Regions from separate parts of the Homo sapiens genome. Here region 2 is linked to region 1. Evidence: promoter capture Hi-C in 16 types of primary human blood cells and fetal thymus (Javierre and others, 2016). All regions are on one chromosome and are shown on one strand. The core of a region is centred on a gene start or on the middle of the fragment in contact, and the rest is flanking DNA. Distances in the headings are between cores, read along the strand shown. Region 1 holds the start of SHFL (shiftless antiviral inhibitor of ribosomal frameshifting). Region 2 overlaps SMARCA4 (SWI/SNF related BAF chromatin remodeling complex subunit ATPase 4).

Region 1 (5,626 bases), core at 1,035-3,534:
GAGACCCCGTCTCTTAAAACAAATTTAAAAAAATGCTAGCTCTACGAGGGCAGGGATCTTTGTTTTGTTTGCTGTCATGTCCACAGTGCCTGGAACAGCATTGGGAACAGAGTACACGCTCTATGTGGTTGCCACGGTGATTATAACCTAACAGACCTTTGGTCTGCATATTCTGCGCTAAAAAAAAAAATCAAAAAACAAAAAACCTACCAGATCTGATTTATGTCAGGGCTAGCTCAGACTCTTACCTGTTTCCTGCCCACTCAGTGCCCATCTCGGCCAGTGAATGGGACATAGCTATGACCTCCCTCTGCACTGGGCAAATAGATTAGTAACTGGCAACTATGACAGGCGATCCACTCCAAACCTCGCCACTTCCCTCAGGATAAAATCCCAGGTCTTCTGTGCAGTTTCCAGCCCCCATCCTGCCTAGGATTCCACCATTCAGCCACAAGGAATCATGAACTGCTTGTAGTTTGCAAATACAGTAGTCTCCAGAGTGGAGTACATACACCCTATAAACAAAGCTTTGGGGTTCAACTGGAAAAACTTTAGAATATCTAGATTTGGGGGGTTTTATTGTTTGTTTTTTAGTCTTTTAAAAATAACTTTTTCCTTTTCTTTTTTCTTTTTTTAAAGACAAGGTCTTGCTATGTTGCCCAGGCTGGTTTTGAACTCCTGACCTCCAGTGATTCTCCCACCTTGACCTCCCAAAGTGCTAGCATTACAGGTGTGAACCATCATGCCCAGCTCCATTTATCTATCAATATTTTATATAACAGTTAACAGAATATATTGATATAATTGTATTTGTATATAATTTATAAATAATATCCATCTTTGAGGCCAGGAGTTTGAGACCAGCCTGGGCAACATAGTGAGACCCCGTCTCTACAAAAAAAATAGAAAATTAACCAGGCATAGTGGCATATGCCAGTAGTCCCAGCTACTTAGCAGGCTGAGGCAGGAGGATCGTTTGAGCCCAGGAGTTAGAGGCTGCAGTGAGCCACCATCAAACCACTGCACTCCAGCCTGGGCAACAGAGCAAGATCTTGTCTCAAAAAATAAATAAATGAATAAATATCCATCTGGGGGTGTAACTTTAACACTTTTACCTATAGGGGTGTGCAATGGAGAAAAAAATTTGGAGTCGTTGAACACAATGCTATTTTGCTCCTCAGAGAGTATCCGGCAGTCTCTGGAGACGTTTTTGGTAGTCACAACAGGGAGAGTAGGGAACCACTGGCATCTAGTGGGTGGAGGCCAGGGATGGTGTTAAATGTCCCCCAATACACAGGACAGTCCCCCACACAAAGAACTAGGCCGCCCAAAGTGTCAAGAGTGCTGGGCTTGAGAAGCCATTGCCCAAAAACCCCAGACTTAGTCTTGCTTTGGGGGCTCTGCACGGCTGCCTCATCTCCCCACTCTATTCCTCCCCTAGCTAAGACCTCCAATTTCAGTGACTCTACAAAGCATCCCCTCCTCCAATGAAGTTGCCATCTCTGTGTCCCCAGGCTGGGCCAGAGCCCCACCACCTAAGGGCTCCCTGATGTGCCCTGTACTGGGTTAGAATTGTCCGTCCCACGGGGTTCTTAACCATTGCAGATTCCCTGGATCCCTGAGACAGCCGGATTCTACCGGGCTACTAGAGACCAAGAATCTGTATTTTTCTCAAGCACCGCTCCCCCCAACCACACACACACTGCCTGCCCCTATCAAGGGCACACAGCAGGTGGCCCAGTGACTAGTTGAACGCCTACTGCAAGCCAGGCGCTATTACGCGATCCACTCGGGAATCTTGGCACATACTCCACTCCATGGTGTAGACACCAGGATTCTCCCCATTTCACAGAGGGGTAAACTGAGGTTGAGAGAGGTGACCGTAGCTAGGACAGAGACTCAGGGCAGGAAAAGGGCCCAGGTCCTCATGAGCGCCAGATTCCCGGGGAAGGAGGGAGAACAGAGAGGAGGGTGATGAACTGGGGGAGCGCGCGCTGGGTGGGGGGGCGCGGGGCCTCGCCGCGGCCTTCTGATGCGGCCCCGCCCCCACGAGGGACGTGAAGACGCGGACCCCGCGCAGCGTGGGGACATGTGACCGACTGCAGAGGCCGCGCCGCCTCCCCCGTCCGAGGTCTGCGCGCTCCGCCGCAGGGTGCAGACCCGGGGCGCCCGCCTGGGTTTGGGGCGCAAGAGCAGAGGCGGAGCCAGGGCGGAGCCAGCGCGCCGGGTCCCCCCTGAATCGAAAGCGAAACAGGGGCCGGGGAGGAAGGGCGGAGCCGGCCCCGAGGCACCGCCCCCTGCCCTGCGCGGCTGCTGGACCGACGGGCGCACCCAGGTAGGGGGGCGGCTGAGCCGCGCAGTGCGGACCCTCGCGGGGAACTGCGCCGCCGCCACCATGTCTCAGGAAGGTGTGGAGGTAAGCGATGGCTACGGCTGGGCCGGGGTCAGCCGCGACAGACCCCGAGGAGCGGCCGGGAGGCGCGGAGGGGGCTTCGCAGTTCCTGGGGACCCCCATCCTAGAACCCCAGATCCTTACCCCTGCCTGGCGCTCGCCCCCCTTGAAAAGGAAAGTGACTCCCACGTTTCCCCAGAGCGAAATGAGGCCTCCCCGAGGAAAAGCGGGGGCTGCAGGGTCAAAGGTCAGAGGCCAGAGATAACCTGGCCGCCCCCCCACACCTTAGGCTGGGACGCTCGCCCCAGTCCGCGCCTTCCCCCAACGCCCTGTGGGGACTTTGGCTTTTTCCAGGAAATGCCGTAAAGGGATGAAAGGCGGGGGGGGGGCGGCGGAGGCCAAAACCAAGGGTCAAGTTCGGGCCGGGAGAACGGTGCCTAGAGATGGGGGAGGGATGATCCCGTTTCCCCTTCCCCCACCGGAACCCCCCTGTCTCCATCCCAGCTGGAGAAGAGCGTCCGGCGCCTCCGGGAGAAGTTTCATGGGAAGGTATCCTCCAAGAAGGCGGGGGCTCTGATGAGGAAATTCGGCAGCGACCACACGGGAGTGGGGCGCTCCATCGTGTACGGTGAGGCTGCAGGGGTCCCGGGCCTGGTGCGGGGACCGCGCGTGGGAGCGCCGAGGGGGCGTGGTCTAGGGAGAGGCGTTGAGATCACCTCCCCCGGAGGTCCCAGCCTTGGGGAGGCTCTGCGTCGCGGCTCTGGGTGGCCTGGAACTCCCACAGACCCTTCAAGGGCCCTTCCCTTATATGCACTCTCCCCCGCAGGGGTAAAGCAAAAAGATGGCCAAGAACTAAGTAACGATCTGGATGCCCAGGTAACCTATCCCCTCCCCTCGCAAAGGACCGGGTCACGGGAGGGAGAGCAAGAGGGGGGACCCGACCCGTTCATGGTGACTGACCCCCCTCTGAAACAGGAGGGACCAGGCATTGTCGGTCCATAACTCATCACCCAATCTCACTTTTTCACCTCTCCATCATTTGTCCGGCCAGGGAGCCTGCAAACAGTAGGCGCTCATTATGTGCTGATTGTATTCAATGGGGGAGAGAGCCATGAAACTAAGCAATGAAAGGAGCCAGGATTATTGCCATCATAGCGGGGGCGCAGAGGTCAGAGAAGGCTTACTGGAGGAGGAGGTACCAAGTCTTAAAGGATGGGGAGGAGTGAGCCCTGGGAGGGGAAAGGGAAAGAAAGGCAGGGGTCTTGGGGTGGGGGAGGGAATGGCATAAGCAAAGGCTGGGAGGTGGGGAAGGGTTGTTAGTGGCAGTCTCTAGAAAGGCTAGGATGAGCAGAGGATTGGGGAGGAGAGAGAGGCAGGGGAATGGAACCCTTGTGTTGAATGAATGAATGAATGAATGAATGAATGAATGAATGAATGGCTTTGAAGCACAGGTGCATCATGGCTACTTTGCTTCTTTGACAGCTTTGGTGATGGGAACGCTGTGGATTTAGCCTGCCTGAAAGGCTTAGTGTAGGGCTGTTAAAGAGTATAATAGGCCAGGCGCGGTGGCTCACGCCTGCAATCCCAACATTTTGGGAGGCCGAGGCGGGCGGATCACCTGAGGTCGGGAGTTTGAGACCAGCCTGACCAACATGGAGAAACCCGTCTCTACTAAAAAATACAAAATTAGCTGGGCATGGTGGCGCATGCCTGTAATCCCAGCTACTCGGGAGGCTGAGGCAGGAGAATCACTTGAACCCAGGAGGCGGAGGTTGCAGTGAGCTGAGATCACACCATTGCACTCCAGCCTGGGCAACAAGAGCGAAACTCTGTCTCAAAAAAAAAAAAAAAAAAAAAATGCCGGGCGCGGTGGCTCACGCCTGTAATCCCAGCACTTTGGGAGGCCAAGGCGGGCGGATCATGAGGTCAGGAGATCGAGACCATCCTGGCTAACATGGTGAAACCCCATCTATACTAAAAATACGAAAAAAAAAATTAGCCAGTTGTGCTGGCAGGCCCCTGTAGTCCCAGCTACTCAGGAGGCTGAGGCAGGAGAATGGCGTGAACCCGGGAGGCGGAGCTTGCAGTGAGCCGAGATCGCACCACTGCACTCCAGCCTGGGCAACAGAGCGATTCTCCGTCTCAAACAAACAAAAACAAACAAAACCAGAGTATAACAAAACATGTATCATAGTCTACATTTATACATATAAAAGTATGATAAAAATGATAGCAGAGGGGCCAGGTGTGGTGGCTCACGCCTGTAATTCCAGCACTTTGGGAGGTTGAGGCGGGCAGATCACTTGAGGTCAGGAGTTCGAGATTAGCCTGGCCAACACGGTGAAACCCCTTCTCTATTAAAAATACAAAAAATTAGCTGGGCGTGGCAGTGCATGCTTGTAATCCCAGCTACTTGGCAGGCTAAGGCAGAAGAATCACTTGAACCTGGGAGGCAGAGGTTGCAGTCAGCCAAGATTGTGCCATTGCACTCTAGCCTGGGAGACAAGAGCGAAACTCCGTCTCAAAAATATAATAATAATAATAATAATAATAATAATAATAATAATATTAGCAGAGAGTAGCATTCATTGAGTACTTCCCACATGGCAAGATTCCAGGAATTTATTTATTTCATCACTGCAGTGACCCCAGGAGACAGGTCCTATTATTTATCCCCATTTCACAGACAAAGAAACTGAGGCCGAAGTCACTTGCCAGCAAGCAGGGGCAGCTGCGATTTGAACCCTGGCCACCTGGAGTCAGAGCCTGGGCTCTAACATGCCTGTCAGTGGGAACCCAGGGGGCAGGGAGTGGCTTGCCCAAGTCCCCACAGCTGGAAGTGATACAGCTGGGATTTGAACCCACATCTCTCTCCCACTTAGCCGAGCACAACGTGGCCTCAAAGGGGCGATATGTCACAACATCAACAAGCATGTGGCATTTGCAGGCAGGAAGTGAGTATGGGGGTCAGGCTAGCCTCACTCAGGCAAGCCCTCCCCTAAGCCTCAGTTTCCCCATCTGAGCAATAAGGTAACAGGTGTGCCCACCTCTCAGGGCTGCTATGAGGACAACTGAGGCCACACACCTGGCTCTCAATAAGTGAGTGGTGCTCTGTGAGCTTCTGGCGAGTTAGGGGCACCCTACTCATTGCGGCCGGGGGCCTCCCCCAGCAAACGGGTGGAAAGAGGCCTGAGCCCCATCCCCAGTTTCTGCCCCTGCTATCTCCACCCAGGA
Region 2 (5,918 bases), core at 3-2,502, 880 kb after region 1:
CTACAGTCGCCCTCCCAATTACAGCGGCTGCAACAATAGGCAGGCGTTGGGGCTTTTCTGGCTGCGTGGTAACGGGTCCGACCCGAATGTTGCGTTTTTGGCGAAGCTGCGATCGGGGCTCAGCCAAACCTCCAGATATGTCCGGCGTCGGCCGGACACGGGCATTAGCGGTCCCCTTGGGCTAGCCGACCTCAAATTGTCTTAAAAACGTGTCATTCCAGATTTTCAAGGAAAGGTAAAGGACTCCCCCGATGCCTTGCAGTTAGTGACTTCAAAATGTTTGCCCGAATTGGGGTTGGGGATGGGGTCGGCGGCAAGTAGGGGAGCACGGAGGAAATCCTTTGCTGTGTAAAAGCATTGCTTTTCTTTTGCATCCTTTTTTCTCCTTCCCAATTGGTTTTTCAGATTAAGGCTTTTATTTTCAACGTGGACCTTTTGGGCGAGTGTTTTGTCCCGATCTTGAAGATACCAGTCTTGATTTTTTTTTTTTTTTTTTTTGGTCAGTGACTCCTTGGGGAAAGTAGCAAGGGAATAAGCGGAAAAGCCGCTTCGCAGGAATTTGAAGCAAGTTTTCAGTTTGGATTGATAGGCTGCATTCAAGCTTGATTCCTGGTGCTGTCAGTCACTTAGCACACTGTCACTTTAGGGAAGTGGCTTAACCTCTCTGAACCTCTTAGTTTTCCTCCTTTGTGAAAGCTCCTTTGTGAAAGGGGGTAATCTCCCAAATGGAATTGGTGAAAGCCTGTAAAATGGTTCCTCGCAAGCGGGAAGCACTATTGTAATTGTCTGGTCCAATCTCCCTCATTGTTCAGCAGATAACTTCTTGAGGCCCTACTAAGTGTTGGATGGTCGGGGGTTGGATCCTGGAGCCTCTGCAGTCTTGGAGGGGAGCGGGTGGTAAATGTGGGAACAAACTCTCTTGGCCTATCGTTTATTGCTCTGAACCTGCACTGTGAGAGGGACACAGCGGACAGGCAGGGGATCGGTGGTAGCCAGAGATCACGGGGGCTGCTTGGAAGAGGGGGCCTCAAAATCAGGGAGGGTGTGTAGGATTGTATTTTGTTTTTGAGGCAGAGTCTTGCCTGTCGCCCAGGCTGGAGTTCAGAGTCCCAATCTCCGCTCACTGTAACCTCCGCCTCCTGGGTTCAAGCGATTCTCCTGCCTCAGCCTCCTGAGTAGCTGGGACTACAGGCGCCCGCCACCACGCCTGGCTAATTTTTGTATTTTTAGTAGATATGGGGTTTTACCATGTTGGCCAGGCTGGTCTCAAACTCCTGACTTAAGGTGATCCACCCACCTCGGCCTCCCAAAGTGCTAGGACTACATGTGTGAGCCACTGCGCCAGGATTGTATTTTGACTTTCCCTGGCCACCTCGGACTAGCCATTGTTCCCCTCAGCTACATTCATACATCAACTTGGTCCTTTCCGGTGTAGCTGTCACCCCCAGCACCGTGAGAGCTGGGGTTGTGTCTGCCTGGCTGGCCCCACAGTACCCTGGGCCTGACACATAGTAGGTCTTTAGCGAACTTATGTGGATTGAATGAGGGGGTCCTGTGGAAGATCGCGTGACCATCTGTGTAAAAGGCTTGGTGCAGGGCCAGGTGCAGTGGCTCATACCTGAAATCCCAGCACTTGGGGAGGCTGAGGCGGGAAAATTGCTTGAACCCGGGAGTTTGAGACTAACCTGGGCAACATAGTGAGACCTCATCTCTACAAAAAATACAAAAATTAGCCGAGTGTGGTGGCATGCACCGGTGGTCCCAACTACTCAGGAGGCTGAGGTAGGAGGACTGCTTGAGCCAGAGAGGTGGAGGCTGCAGTGAGCCATTCTTGTGCCCCTGCATTCCAGCCTGTGCACCAGAGTAAGACTGTCTCAAAAAAAAAAAAAAAAAAAAAGAAAAAGAAAGCTTGGTGCAGGACTGGGGGTGGATTGTAAGGGATACAGGTTAGTTGTTTGAACAGTTTTTGCACTTTCCAAGCCATTGTTTCCTGAACCTCAGTTGTCCTCATCTCCCCTACAAAGTGTGGGGTGGTGGTTAGCGTGGGGTGGTGGTAAGGAGTACTCATTCTGGAATCAGACCTCCTGAATTCACACCCAGCTCTCTAAATCGTAGCTTAACCTCAAGCGAGGCGCTTAGCAGTAGGGCCCCCCACTTGTGAAACAGGTAGGACGAGGATGCCCGAAACTTCACAGGCTTCTTGTGAGGGTTGAATGAGGTCACATGGGAAGCCGCTAACACACTGCTGCACCTGATGCGTAGTGAACACTTGATTTTTTTTTTTTTTTTGAGACGGAGTCTCGCTCTGTCATCCGGGCTGGAGTGCAATGCCCCTGTAGTCCCAAGCTCCTTGAGAGGCTGGGGCAGGAGGTACAGGCTGCAGTGGACCATGATTGAGCCACTGCACTCCAGCCTGGGTGACGAAGCGAGACCCTGTCTAAAAAAAGGAATAAAAATTAATTCATGCATAGTTAGGAAAGTAATAAATGGTTTTGCATGGGCCACCTAAAATCATTTTGTGTCCAGCCCTTTAGGAGACGTAAATGTTGATCGTGCAGGCTTTTGAGCAGGGGAGGTGATGTCATCAGAATTGTGATATAGGGCAGTGCAGTGGTCTCTAAACTTCTTGTCAGTGAGGAGCATTCCAACATATGTGTATTTATTTACAATTTATTTGTGTACCTTTGCTTCTCCTTGGGAACCCTCAAAACACCAGGAGATAACCTTAGACCATTCCATGTTTTGGCTGTTTGTGGGAGGTGGGAGCATGGGAGGGACTAGGGTTTTGGGCAGATGTCTGGTGGAACTTTCTTTCTTTCTTTCTTTTTTTTTTGAGACGGAATCTTACTCTTGTTGCCCAGGCTGGAGTGCAATGGCACGATCTCGTCTCACTGCAACCTCTGCCTCCCGGGTTCAAGCGATTCTTCTGACTCAGCCTCCTGAGTAGCTGGGATCACAGGTGTGCACCACCACACCTGGCTAAGTTTTGTATTTTTAGTAGAGATGGGATTTCATCATGTTGGCCAAGCTGGTCTTGAACTCCTGACCTCAACTGATCCACCCACCTTGGCCCTTGGCCTCCCAAAGTACTGGGATTACAAGTATGAGCCACCGCGCCCGGCCTCTTTTTTTTTTTTTCTTATGAGACAGAGTCATTCTGTCGCCCAGGCTGGAGTGCAGTGGTGCGATCTTGACTCACTGCAACCTCCGCCTCCTGGTCTCAAGCGATTCTCATGCCTCAGCCTCTGGAGTGGATGGGACTAAGGACGTGCACCACCATGCCCAGCTAATTTTTGTATTTTAGTAGAGACCGGGTTTCACCATGTTGGCCAGAACTCCTGGTCTCGAACTCCTGGCCTCCTGTAATCTGCCCACCTCGGCCTCCCAAAGTGTTGGGATTATAGGCGTGAGCCACCGTGCCCAGCCAGTCTGGTGGAACTTTCTATCAGTAAGGAAACTGAGGCCTAGGGTTATTTTCTTTCCACAAGGGTTGTCAAGTCAACCACCTGGGTTTGACTCCTGGTTTTGTCTTTCCATCCCTCGGTCATCAAGGCTGCCATGGCACAGAAGGACCCATTCATGGTGCCTGTAGACAGAACACAATGTGAATAGTGCCCCCTGGAGTTGTGCAAGAAATGACCCAGCCACTCTTCCCCATTTATGTGGCGAACAAGCATGCATTGAGCGCCTGCCATGTGCCAGGCACTGCTGGGGAGCTGGGGATTCCATGGGGAACAGGCAGACAAGGGTCCTGTTCTTAGTAGCTCACACCCCACTCTTGACTTGCAAAGGGGGACAGTACTAGTACCCAGCTTGTAGGATTGCTGCAAGAGCTGAACAACCAGTGACAAATGCGAAGTGCTTAGAATGGTGCCTGGCACATAGTGCTAAACAGTTGTTAGTGCTCATCATTTATTAGGATTCCTGCAACAGCCTGGTGGGATGACACAGATAATATACTTTTTCCTCTAGTCATAAGTTCTGTATGTTTCAAAGTGGTAGCAAAGGAGTCAGCTCCTCCATTTTGTCCTTAATGGCTGCACATTGTTTAACAGCAGGGATGCATTCTGAGGAATGCGTTGTGAGATGATTTTGTGGTTGCGTGAAGATGATAGAGTGTGCTTACACACGTCTAGATGGTGGAGCCTAGTCCACATGTAGGCTCTGTGGTATAGCCTATTGTTCCCAGGCTATACACCTGTACAGCATGTCACTGTACCGATTATTGTAGGCAGTTGTGACCCGATAGTATTTGTGTATCTAAATATATCTAAACAGAAAACGTATGGGAAAAATACAGTATTATGATCTTTAAAAAATTTTTCTAATTAGACAATTCAAGGAGGAAGGTATAATCTTATGGGACTATTGTATATTTGGTCCATCATTGACCAAAATGTTATGTGGTGAAGAAAACCATGCTTTGAAATTTCACCATAAGGCATTGGAAAAGGGAGAGTGTGTTTAGTGGCATGGTTTTTTTTTTTTTTTTTTTTTTTTTTTTTGAGGTGAAGTTTCGCTCTTGTTGCCCAGGCTGGAGCACAATGATGCGGTCCTGGCTCACTGCAACATCCGACTGCAGAGTTCAAGCAATTCTCCTGCCTCAGCCTCCCGAGTAGCTGGGATTACAGGTGCCCGCCACCATGCCTGGCTAATTTTTTGTATATTTAGTAGAAACGGGGTTTCACCATGTTGACCAGGCTGGTCTTGAACTTCTGACCTCAGGTGACCCACCTGCCTCAGCCTCCCAAAGTGCTGGGATTACAGACGTGAGCTACCGCGCCCGGCCAGGTTTTTAAAAATATCAAATGTTCAGCCGAGTGTGGTGGCTCATGCCTGTAATTCCCACACTTTGGGAGGCCCAGCAGGGCAAATCACTTGATCCCAGGAATCCAAGACCAGCCTGGGCAGCATGGCGAAACCCCGTCTCTACAGAAAAGTTAAAAAATTAGCCAAGCATGGTGTTGCACACCTGTAGTCCCAGCTACTTGGGAGGTTGACGTGGGAGGATCAAGCCGAGGAGGTGGAGGCTGCAGTAAGCTGTGATCGCACCACTGCACTCCAACCTGGGTGACACAACAAGACCCTATCTTAAAAAAGCCGGGGGTTGGGCTGGGCGCGGTGGCTCATGCCTGTATTCCTAGCACTTTGGGAGCCGAGGCGGGCGGATCGCCTGAGCTCAGGAGTTCAAGACCAGCCTGGGCAACATTGTGAAACCCCGTCTCTACGAAAATACAAAAGAAATTAGCTGGGCATGGTGGTGTGCGCCTGTAGTCCTAGCTACTTGTGAGACTGAGGCAGGAGAATTGCTTGAACCCGGGAGGCCAAGGTTGCAGGGAGCCGAGATCGTGCCGCTGCACTCCAGCCTGGGCGACAGAGCAAGACTACGTCTCTACAAAAGAAAAAAAAAAAGCCGGGGGTTGGGAAGGATAACAGCTGCTGGAATACTGGGGGAAGGTATGAGAGGGAACAGGTCAGAATGAAGCCTGAGGCTGAATGGAGCTTCAGGTGCTGCCACCCTCATAGGTGTCAACCCTAAGGAGACATAGCGGACTCATTAGTATGCCCAGTGATTTCTTGATTGAAGTTTTCTGTTAACTGCATCCTAAGGACATTAATCATTAATTTTTCAGGGTGTGGGATTGATGGGCATGTGATTTGTGGCCTCAACTCTTCTTCATATATGGGAAAGGGCCTGGATGGAAGTGCCAGGTGTAGCTGGGTTTGTTGTTACAGGGCAGAGAGAAGGGACACATTGATTTCCCTCCAATTCCCTCAGGGAAGGGGGCTTTCTTGTTTTTATTTTATTTTATTTTATTTTATTTTTTGAAATGGAGTCTTGCTCTCTCTCTGTCGCCCAGGCTGGAGTGCAGTGGCACGATCTCAGCTCACTGCAAGCTCCCCCTTCCGGGTTCACG

The links. Contacts are between HindIII fragments. The CHiCAGO score rates a contact against its expected background, and 5 or more counts as called.
Region 2: a fragment that was not itself captured here is called in contact with the fragment with the promoter of SHFL in region 1 in 1 of 17 cell types (neutrophils); the score reaches 6.0 in neutrophils.

What each region holds. Positions count from the first base shown.
Region 1 is chr19:10,084,033-10,089,658 of GRCh38, forward strand. SHFL (shiftless antiviral inhibitor of ribosomal frameshifting) reads left to right here and starts at 2,285. Exons shown (of 8, transcript NM_018381.4): 1 at 2,285-2,416; 2 at 2,897-3,020; 3 at 3,219-3,268; 4 at 5,625-5,626. The coding sequence starts at 2,396. RefSeq lists silencers at 1,984-2,203, 2,274-2,553. The HindIII fragment of the contact is 8,670 bases long and covers 526-5,626 here.
Region 2 is chr19:10,961,495-10,967,412 of GRCh38, forward strand. The region is part of intron 1 of SMARCA4 (SWI/SNF related BAF chromatin remodeling complex subunit ATPase 4); the gene reads left to right. Among named protein-coding and RNA genes, the nearest start is that of SMARCA4, 3.4 kb to the left of the region's middle. RefSeq lists an enhancer at 2,421-2,550. The HindIII fragment of the contact is 1,307 bases long and covers 600-1,906 here.